Linked DNA regions of Homo sapiens: regions 1 and 2 are each linked to region 3. Evidence: promoter capture Hi-C in 16 types of primary human blood cells and fetal thymus (Javierre and others, 2016). All regions are on one chromosome and are shown on one strand. Each heading gives the region's core, a stretch centred on a gene start or on the middle of the fragment in contact. The rest is flanking DNA. Distances are from core to core; before and after follow the strand shown. Region 1 holds the start of CLGN (calmegin). Region 2 holds the start of UCP1 (uncoupling protein 1). Region 3 holds the start of MGAT4D (MGAT4 family member D).

Region 1 (2,976 bases), core at 74-2,573, 71 kb before region 3:
AAGTACTACAGCTAACTTACAACACTTCAATTTCTAGACAAATGCATCAACATACTTACATCATTTACACACAATAATTAACCTTATCAACTAGCTAAGACAGAGAGTACAGAATATCTTGTTCTGAGGATTTGGAGATGAGATCTAAATGTTACTGGAAGATCAAACCAATAAGACGTGAAGGCAAAACTCCAAACTGAAAACAGGTCAAACTTACAATGACCCAAAGGAGGGCTACCTCGAGTGATGTCGACATTTGTAAAACAAGCAAAATCATCAGATGAGATCGGGATTTTGCCTGCTTTTAAGCAACAAAAAGTTTATACGTTAATGAACTCTTTTCTAATTTGAGACTTCTTCCTGTGGCCACGTTATTTACCTTTTCTCTCCCAGTCCTGAGCTTTGGTTGCCATTTGCTTTTAACTCCCAAGCAAACACCTCCTCTTTGTTGCTTGGGCAGATGCTATAAATAAAATCAGCGAAAGTGTCTGATTGATGGTAAACAGGCCTGGGGCGATAATGAGTCTAGTAATTAGGGCCTCTCTGGATTCAACCCAGCCCTTTCGCCCGCCCCCCGGCGGCGCACAATGGGCTCTGCGCGGGTATCGAGGGAGCGGCCAACAGTCCCTGGCCCCACCGCCGTGAAGTGGGGTCCCTTCGCTTCCACATAGGTGGAGACTGAGACAGCCGAGCCTATTTTGATCTCGTTTGGGTTTCTGTAAGGAGCAGTCAGCAGAGTGAGCAGCGCCCAGACGCGCCCCGGGCCCCCTCTACAACCATTGGGAGAGCGCCCCGGGCTCAAGCGTGGAACGGGGCTGCAATGGCAACCGCTGGAATAACGGCCTCGGCTCCCGGTGGCTCCTCAAGCCCGCAGGGGAGGCCGGCCGGGCTAGGCACCTAGCTGTCCCCGTGCTCGTCCGCCCCAGCCCGGGCGCAGCAGGTGGATGCGGCGGTGCTGAAGACACAAAGGGTCCCAGGTGGCACCACCTCCTGCGTCCACCCACGGGGCCGCCAGAGCCCAGTCAAGACCCTAGCTCGCTGCAGCCCCATCGCCAGACTCAACATCCACCCTCACTTGGCCCCGACCGGTTCAGCCCTCTGGCGGCAAAGTAACGGGGTGCCTGGGGGAAGCAGCAACGACTCCGCTTCCTCACCCCAATCTGCGCGCAAAGGGCAGCGGGACAGCGGGAACGCGGCCTGCTGCTCACGCACCTCTCTTGCGGCCTGTTTTCGGCAGTGACAGCTCAGATGTCCAAGTCGTTGCCACTTGGTCCCCGCGTCTCTTCAGACCAGTCCCGCCGGCGGCCGCGCAGCAGCGACTACTAACCGCGCGTGCGCGTGCGGTGGCGGGCGGGAGGCGGTGGCGGCCCGAGGTGTGTGCTACGCGCTCCTGCTCCGAGGGGCTCAACCGCCTCCAGGGGGAGCCGCACATGGAGCCTGTGCCGCCGCCGGCCGGTTGTGGCCTGGACCCCGCTCCCGGGTTAGCCCAGGAGGAATTCCCCCTGCAAGTCCGAAGACTTTTCCTCCTCTGAGCTCCCGCCCTCTCTGCAGACCGTGCTACCTCCTGTTGCGCAATGATTGGGTCCTGAATTTTATGTAAATCATATTTATGAACAACGTCCAGTAATAAGTGCAGCAAGATTAGGGCTCTAGGTTTTCTCCAGAGTTCTAGATGTTAACAGATCTGCAGTCATGGTGATTAATAAGGAGCTTTCCTGTCTGGTGTGTGTATATGACAAATACAGATGCGTTAAGTGTTAATAAATACATTGTATATAAAACAATATGTTCTTTTTCTCTCGAACAACACTATTAATAAGAGCTGCTAACATTTATTGTGTTCATTGTGCTCTAAGGGGCTTACATTCATTGTTTAACCTTCGTGGCAACCCAGGTGATGAAACTGATGGCAACTTGCTCGAAGTTACACAACATGTAAACAGTGGAAACGGGATGTAAATCAGGCCTGTCTCTCTCAGAGCCTGTAGTTTCAAACACATTGAAATAAATCTTAGCATAAACGTAGTTTATGCTATGATTATGCAATCACAAGCTGCTTTGCCTTTTATATATTGGATCAATATTAATTTTACTACTTAATATTTTATAGTAAATCTTGACTTTGAATTTGGTATAACAATTTAATTTTATTGGAAGATTAATTAACAACATTTAATTGACTTGTGAGTCTAAGACCCTTGTTGAAGAGTTTCAATCTTAAGGGTTTGGTGGCATTCCGTGCACAACGTATCATTATTGGCTAGGGGTCAAGATCACTGAGTTTTTTCACATTGCTTCACTAATTAAGACCAGCATTTCTAAACTTTTGACTTTGTCATCTCTGGGAGAGTGTTTGGATAGTGTTAAAATTTACTGGTTAAAAAGACATTTTGTTTGAGATACTTTGTAACAATATTATACCCTTTATTTCTTTCTTCCGTCCTTCTGACTTCTATTATTCAACATACTTCTGTGGCCCATAACAAATACACTTGAACTGCTAGAGAGGGATTTTTTAAAGGATCCATTCAAAGTTTGCAGTGAGGAAGCTGAAAACTAAAAATGTAAGAATAGTGAATTTTTGCAAGATTTAGTAGTATCTTCTTGGTCACATAGTACTCAAAACCTTGAGAACATTTTTTTACTCTTTGGCTGCTACATTCACTGCCTCCATAAATTAAACTCTAACTCCATAAAATCATCTAAAAGAGGTCCTCACCCCCTCCAGTCCCTGTGCCATTTCTCTAGTTTAGATTCTCACTACTTTAGAAACTGTTGTTCAGAGTTACCTAACTAGTTGCCCCCCTTCAGAGCCTCCCACCTACACTTCGTAGTTTAATCCTCAGCTCATTCAATAGTTTCCAATGACCCTTCATTACCCACAGCATGAAATCTAATCTCTAACCTTGAAATTTAAGGCCTTAACATATCTCCAAAATTATTTGCCACTTATTGAAAGGATGATTGAATATAATA
Region 2 (3,194 bases), core at 182-2,681, 71 kb after region 3:
TGGAGATCCAAACTGGGCACAAAACTTCCATGACTGGGTGACCTTTACAAGTATATATCTGCATCTAAAAAATCGATTTTGCATACTTTTTTCTATGAACAATGAGCTAATGTTTGGGGAAGGGAGAGTTCAAATATGAATGTTTTCTCGCCAATTTGTTATGAAAACCACTCCTCTGTGTGTTACACTTTTTGGAACAGAGCGGAGCCCAAGGCTTTTCTGCCCCTCCCAGGAACGCTCACGGCTTACTTTCTTTCCCTGCGGTGAGGAACTCCTGGACCGTGTCGTAGAGGCCGATCCTGAGAGAGGCGGAGCTGATTTGCCGCTGAAGCCCCGCAGGCAGCCCGCTGTAGAGTTTCATCCGCCCTTCTGTTTTTACCACAGCGGTGATTGTTCCCAGGACACCTTTATACCTAATAACACTGGACGTCGGGCATTCACCTTGGACCTGGAAATAAGAAAGGTGCAGAACAGAAGGGAGCGAAATTGAGTTCACTCTTAAGCCAAGATTTCCCCCTGTGTTCCTATTTTCCGTTTCTTTTCTCAGCAACATTCCTCTTCCATCCACCTCCCTCTACCGTGTGTGTGTGTGTGTGTGTGTGTGTGTGTGTGTGTGTGTGTGTGTGTTCGCTCACGCGCAGATGGAGGGAGGCTGGCTACAATGCACATTTTGAATATCCCCCTCCCCAGGAACTCTCCAGAACCCCTAGGGCAGTAGGATAGGACAGAACCCCCGAAGAATCAAAGAAAGGAAAAAGCACCTGACTAGTAAACTCAGGAGAGGCCAATATTCTCAGCTCTTAAAATACTAAGTGCACCCTAAATTTTGGGAGAATTTGGTAGTAGTCATGGTCAACCCATTCTCTGTGGCCCTGGTGGTTCTTCAGCTAATCCCAGAAAAAGTTCCAGTTTCCCATCCTAAAGCACCAGCCCTGGGACAAGGCCAGACTGCTTTGGAAGGTCACCTACCCTACCTAGAAACAGTGGTTACACCAAAGCAGAGAATAAATGGAATGCACGCAACAGCGTCCCCTCTGTCCTGAGACCCCTTGTCTTACCCCTCTGCCTAGCTACCTGGAGCCGGACTTTGGCCGTGTCCAGCGGGAAGGTGATCACGTCCGCCAAGCACGCCGCTATTCCAGCTGAGAAGAGCTGGACCCCCAGGGTCGGGTGTACGTCCGAGGCTGTCAGGCCCCCCATCTTCACTCAGAGACTGGAGATGCAGAGGAAAAGGGCTCCAGCCCCGAAGGTGGAGGAAGTTCCTTTCCCTTGCTCTTCACGCCTGTCCGCCGGGCAGCAAACCCGATTTCTGTTTTTTGAACCGACCGCCGGGCAGCGGCGGTGCAGAGGCGGCGGCTGCAGACGGAGCGCGGTGTTGGGGGCCGAGTCCCCGCGTCCCCTCCTACCCACCCTCGCGCCAGCAGGACCCTCTGCGTTCCGGTCTTCCGCTGGGACTTATATAGCTGGGCCGCTCCCGGGCTGGGCCGCGCGAGGTCTCAGAAGACCCGGGCGTGGGACCTGCCGGGGGCGTGTCCGGGAGCACCGGGTCCCTCCCATTCCCATTCTCGCTCGGTGCCTCGGGAGCCCTGCTTCGCTCCCCGAAAGCCCTGGGCCGGCCGCTGGTTGTCTGCGCCCCGCACACCGCACGTCGGAGGGAGGGCGCACCGCGGCGGTCAGCACCCGCGCCCCCGCACGTGCCTCACCTTCTGTCACCCTTTGGCTGCACACCTTCGGCTGGGGCTTTCGGAAACCAGCACGATATCAGAGCCTTGGTGAAAGGTTCTGCCTAGCTGGAGCTCTCCCAGAAGGAAGAGCGGGGCACTCTTCCATTCCTCCAACTCCCCAGACATCTTGCAGGCACCTTGCGGCCTTCTCTGCTTCCCTTTCCTCTCCTTTAAACTTCTCATCCTCCTTCCTCCGGATTCCTTCTCTTCCCACTACCAAATTCAGACTTGGAAGAATCCCACACAGGAACCAAGAGCACTCTGAACTTGTCAAAAAGAGCGTTTCGTTTCATCACTTTTTGAGAGAAGATGTCAAACGAGACAATAGACACACTAGAAAGCAAATAGTACATTGCTAAAGCACCGTACAAAATGAGATACCACCTGTTCCTTCTAATTAGATTTCTTAGAGGGTGCAGTGGAAAGGACAGGGCAGGTTGCTTGGCTCCAGGTGCAGCTCTCCAGCTTACCAACTCTGTGAACCTGGGAAAGTCATCTGTACTCCAGCTTTTATTTTCAACAGTGTAAAATGTGGTTCCAGAGCTAGCCCAGGTCTGAAATCTCCCTGCTAACTTACCTATAATGATGTAATATGTGTTGGTTGTGTGGCCTTTCCTAGTTCGATCTTTGTGCAAATTTTATTTTCAATGTTTATTCTTGTGAAAACTTAAGAAAACAAAAAACTTTTAAAAAAAACAGTGGGAAATAATAGGAAACTGGAGAAAGAGGGAAATGGACAAGGTCAGGTCCCAGCTTTCAGAACCTCTCAGTTAAGCCAAAGATGGATTTGATATTACCAGAATCCACGTCCAGCTATTTAGGGCCTCTGGTACTCAACCCTGACTTAAGCCCCCCAAAAGAGTCAGTGGAAGTCAGAGTCATCTCCTCCAGGAGCAGGAGAAATAAGACATGAATAAAGAATAATCTCCAAACCCTCTATAAGTAAAGGTTGTGTACTGTGCAAGAAGCCAGTCCTAAGGCACTTCCAAGGGAGGTCAGGCTTGCAGAGCTTCCCTGAAAAAGGCAATGTTGACCTGACGGGTAGCCTCTGAAAAAAAATAGAAAGGAGAAGGAGCCAGCGAGGTTTCTCCTCTGCAAACACTTGTTGAAATAAAGATCAACTGAGGCAAATAAGTGGCATGCATACAGGCAAAGATGTTGGGGAAAGCAAGTCGCGTATATAGAATGCATTCTGTTGGCCTGACTGACTGGGAAATTGGGTGATGGGGAAGAAAGAGAGAGGTAGGGCAAGAAGTTGGTGAGGGATGAGGCTGTAGAAGCCAAATGAGAAGCAGAGCCTGCAAATCCATTATGAGTGTAGCTTCATGTTATCACCTGTGTAGTGCTTTACAGACTATGAAGTGCTCTCACATAAATGTCAGATTTAATTTGATAGACAATACAGCTTTATGAATGATTAGATGTGGAGTCAAAGATTACTCTATGTTTAAGAACATGGGTTGCAAGCTC
Region 3 (3,128 bases), core at 534-3,033:
GGTATTAAAACTTCTGAGGTTAACATTCTAAATTACCTTCCAAAATTACTAGGCTGGGTGTGGTGGCTCATGCCTGTAATCCCAGCACTTTGGGAGGCCTAGGTGGGTGGATCACCTGAGGGCAGGAGTTTGTGACCAGCCTGCCCAACATGGTGAAACCCTATCTCTACTAAAAATACAAAAATTATCCGGGCATGGTGGCACATGCCTGTAATCCCAGCTACTCAGGAGACTGAGGCATGAGAATTGCTTGAACCTGGGAGGCACAGGTTGCAGTGCAGTGGCCACTACACTCCAGCCTGGGCAACAAGAGTGAAAACTCTGTCTTAAAAAAAAAATTACTATAAAACTTTACATTTTGCTTTCTAATTAAAAGAAATCATTTATTTTTTGTTATAAGTGTGCTTATTGTTCATTGTGCTAAAATAGACATTTGGATGATGTTCTTTATAGAAAATGAAGAGGAGGGAAACTATGTCAAATGACTATAAAGATTAGTAGAAATATTATAATGCAGATAAATTAATATGCATTCCTAATCTTTGAAACAAGCAGGATATAGAATATTTTGTGTATATGATGATAAAATCTAGTATTAACTGGAGGGCTAAAACATGAAGCCACTCCCAAACTTCAACCTCAGCACTCCTACCAAGATTACCTTGTGTGCACTTAAGTCATACATGTGTAAATAAACGAAAATTTAACTGAAAACAACGTAAGAGCAATCGTGGAAGGCTGGGTTCATAATTTACAGGGTTCCTAAGTCTTAAACTGAAAAATTTAACTACTTGAATGCTAAAATTTTACACCGCGGACAACTAGGGTTAAAAGATCAAATATAGGATACCTGGTTAAATTTGAAATTAAAATAAAAAAGACGTAAATATTTTAGAATAATTATGTCCCATGCAATTTTTTATACTAATATATAATTGTTTATCTGAAATTGAAATTAAACTGGGCAACCTGTACCTTTGTTTCCTAAATTGGCACTTCTATGGGCCAGGAGAAATTGCATCTTGAGTGTGTGTGGGAGCGGAACACAGGCCTGCGGTCCATCGGAGAAGTCCAGGCGCTGGGCCGGCGCTGTAGGTGGTCAGGGACGTCCCTCTCCTTTCTACCACCTCTTTTCAGGTACGCAAAAAACACTCCAGGGAGGAGGGAGGCATGAAGCGGGGCCTGGTGATGTAACCCAGACCACGAAGGAGGAAAGATGCGGACAGATGCTGGCTGTGTAAGAGCAGTTCTTGGGGTCAGACAGCCATAGTTTCGAGAAGGAAGAACAGGAGAGGGGAAAAGCAGTGCACAGACGGGGTCCTTGAACCTTTGAGGAAAAGGGAGCGGCGGGTACCCTGGGCCAGATGCGTTAGCGCGCGTGCAGGCCGGACGCGGCCCTGGAGGAGGAGGTCGGGGCGCGGGTTACAGCCCAGCCGCCGCTGACCGGGGTAGGCGCGGCCTCGGGAAGGCACCGACGCGGGCCTCCCAGTGCCAGCGCGGGCGGCCGCCGCCAGCTTCCCGCATCGCCTCCGCACCCGCCGACCCTGCCCCGCCTGCATTCCTGCAGCCCCGAAGCCCCCGCGGCGGGAAAGGAGGCGGGAGGAGGGCCCGCCGCTTACTGGTTTGAGTTATCCTGTAGATGGAGAAGCAAGAGAAGCTGAACAACGCGACGGCGACCAGGGTGATCAGCAAGTTCACCTGCTTGGTCCTCATGGCCCTGGCCAGGCTGCGGGAGGCCGGCGGGTGGAGGCGGCGGATAATGCCAGGGACGGGGTTGAGCGCGCAGAGCCCCCTCCCCGCGGTGCCGCGTGGGTCCCCAGCACACCCGCCCTGGGAAGCCGCCTTGCCACAGAACTTCTGCACCTTTTGCTTCCTGCTCTAGGGTTCAGCGCGTGCTATAAACCGCTGGCCAGGGCTACTGGTCGTTAAAAACGATAAACTAGGGAAAGCGCCCCATTGCCTGGCACGTGGTGGGTGCGCAATAACTGTTAGGTGACTTTCCTCGAGTGGCTTATCAAAGCTTTACCCAAGCTGAGAAACACTAGAGCATCAGTAGGATGAGACTCTCTATGGACTCCTTGATCTCTCCCCTCTAAGCTCTCCTCTCATTGAGGACTCACTGGCAGTCTGTTATAATATCTGAACATTCTACTTCAAATCAGCCCTGCACGTTGGAAGGGCTGGCTTCTGTCCCCTTGAAGGGGAAGAAAGATTTGAACATACCCCAGCCTGAGGATGCCACTATAGCCTGCGTGTTCTCATGTGCTAATGGCTAGGAGCTGTGACTTTCCATTGAGCCGGGACCCAGCCAGATCTCAAAACAAGGAGCCAGGAGAGACACCTCAACTATGTTCTCCTTCACCCCTTCAGTCTGTTGCCGGTGCTTGCCTTTGGCTGAGCTCTACTGAAAACCAGAAGACAAGAAAGTTCAGCTTGATGTACTGGATGGTCCAAACCTGGCTTCTAGGCTGTGGAGCAGGTTGGAGAAAACGTAGGGAAGATTAGGGTGGGAGAAGGAAGCTATTCAGCATAAAGAGAGATCTCCATACTCAGCATTTCACTGCCTTCTTACTTGAGGTCCAGTTTTTGCATTTTCAGTTGCCTACCCAGCCCTTCAGCTTGAATGTCCCACATCAGATTCAAGATGTCCAAACTTCCTCACCAAGCTATTAATAGCTGTTTTCCCAGAGTCCCTTGATTTTATCAGTGGCATCATAGTTCTTCTTACAATCATTTGGACTCTGGTTCATTATATCTCATTATTTATAAAATCTTTAGTTACCTAAAGGATTGTGTTTCTGTTGCTAGCTACTATCCCCAATACTCAGATGATCACAGTGACATTCAAACTGGTCTCACTGTCTGCAGGATCTACCCTCTGCAATCCACACTTCAATACCAGATACTCTTCCTAGTTCACCACAGTCAGCTGTCACTGTTGTTTACGTAGCTCCACTCCTGAATGAAAATGGACCCACTCAATCGAAGGCCACTCACTGCTTTCTCATCTCCCAGGGCGCCCTTACATGCCTCTGGCACCTGCCAGACTCTTTTTTCAATCCTACTCTGAACATGTCATGTTCACTTCTCTCCTTCTGTGCCTTTTCTCTTTATGTCTGCCCCCTGCC

What was found. Contacts are between HindIII fragments. The CHiCAGO score rates a contact against its expected background, and 5 or more counts as called.
Region 1: a contact is called between the fragment with the promoter of CLGN here and the fragment with the promoter of MGAT4D in region 3, in 17 of 17 cell types (total CD4 T cells, monocytes, neutrophils and 14 more). The highest score is 10.9, in total CD4 T cells.
Region 2: the fragment with the promoter of UCP1 here is called in contact with the fragment with the promoter of MGAT4D in region 3 in 17 of 17 cell types (erythroblasts, neutrophils, activated CD4 T cells and 14 more); the score reaches 12.8 in erythroblasts.

What each region holds. Positions count from the first base shown.
Region 1 is chr4:140,426,325-140,429,300 of GRCh38, forward strand. CLGN (calmegin) reads right to left here and starts at 1,324. Exons shown (of 15, transcript NM_004362.3): 1 at 1,213-1,324. RefSeq lists an enhancer at 481-530. The HindIII fragment of the contact is 13,619 bases long and covers 1-2,976 here.
Region 2 is chr4:140,567,530-140,570,723 of GRCh38, forward strand. It overlaps UCP1 (uncoupling protein 1), which reads right to left and starts at 1,432. Exons shown (of 6, transcript NM_021833.5): 1 at 1,075-1,432; 2 at 250-448. The coding sequence starts at 1,200. The HindIII fragment of the contact is 4,953 bases long and covers 1-3,194 here.
Region 3 is chr4:140,496,510-140,499,637 of GRCh38, forward strand. MGAT4D (MGAT4 family member D) reads right to left here and starts at 1,784. Exons shown (of 11, transcript NM_001277353.2): 1 at 1,620-1,784. The coding sequence starts at 1,713. RefSeq lists enhancers at 1,304-1,805, 1,806-2,305. The HindIII fragment of the contact is 3,126 bases long and covers 1-2,018 here.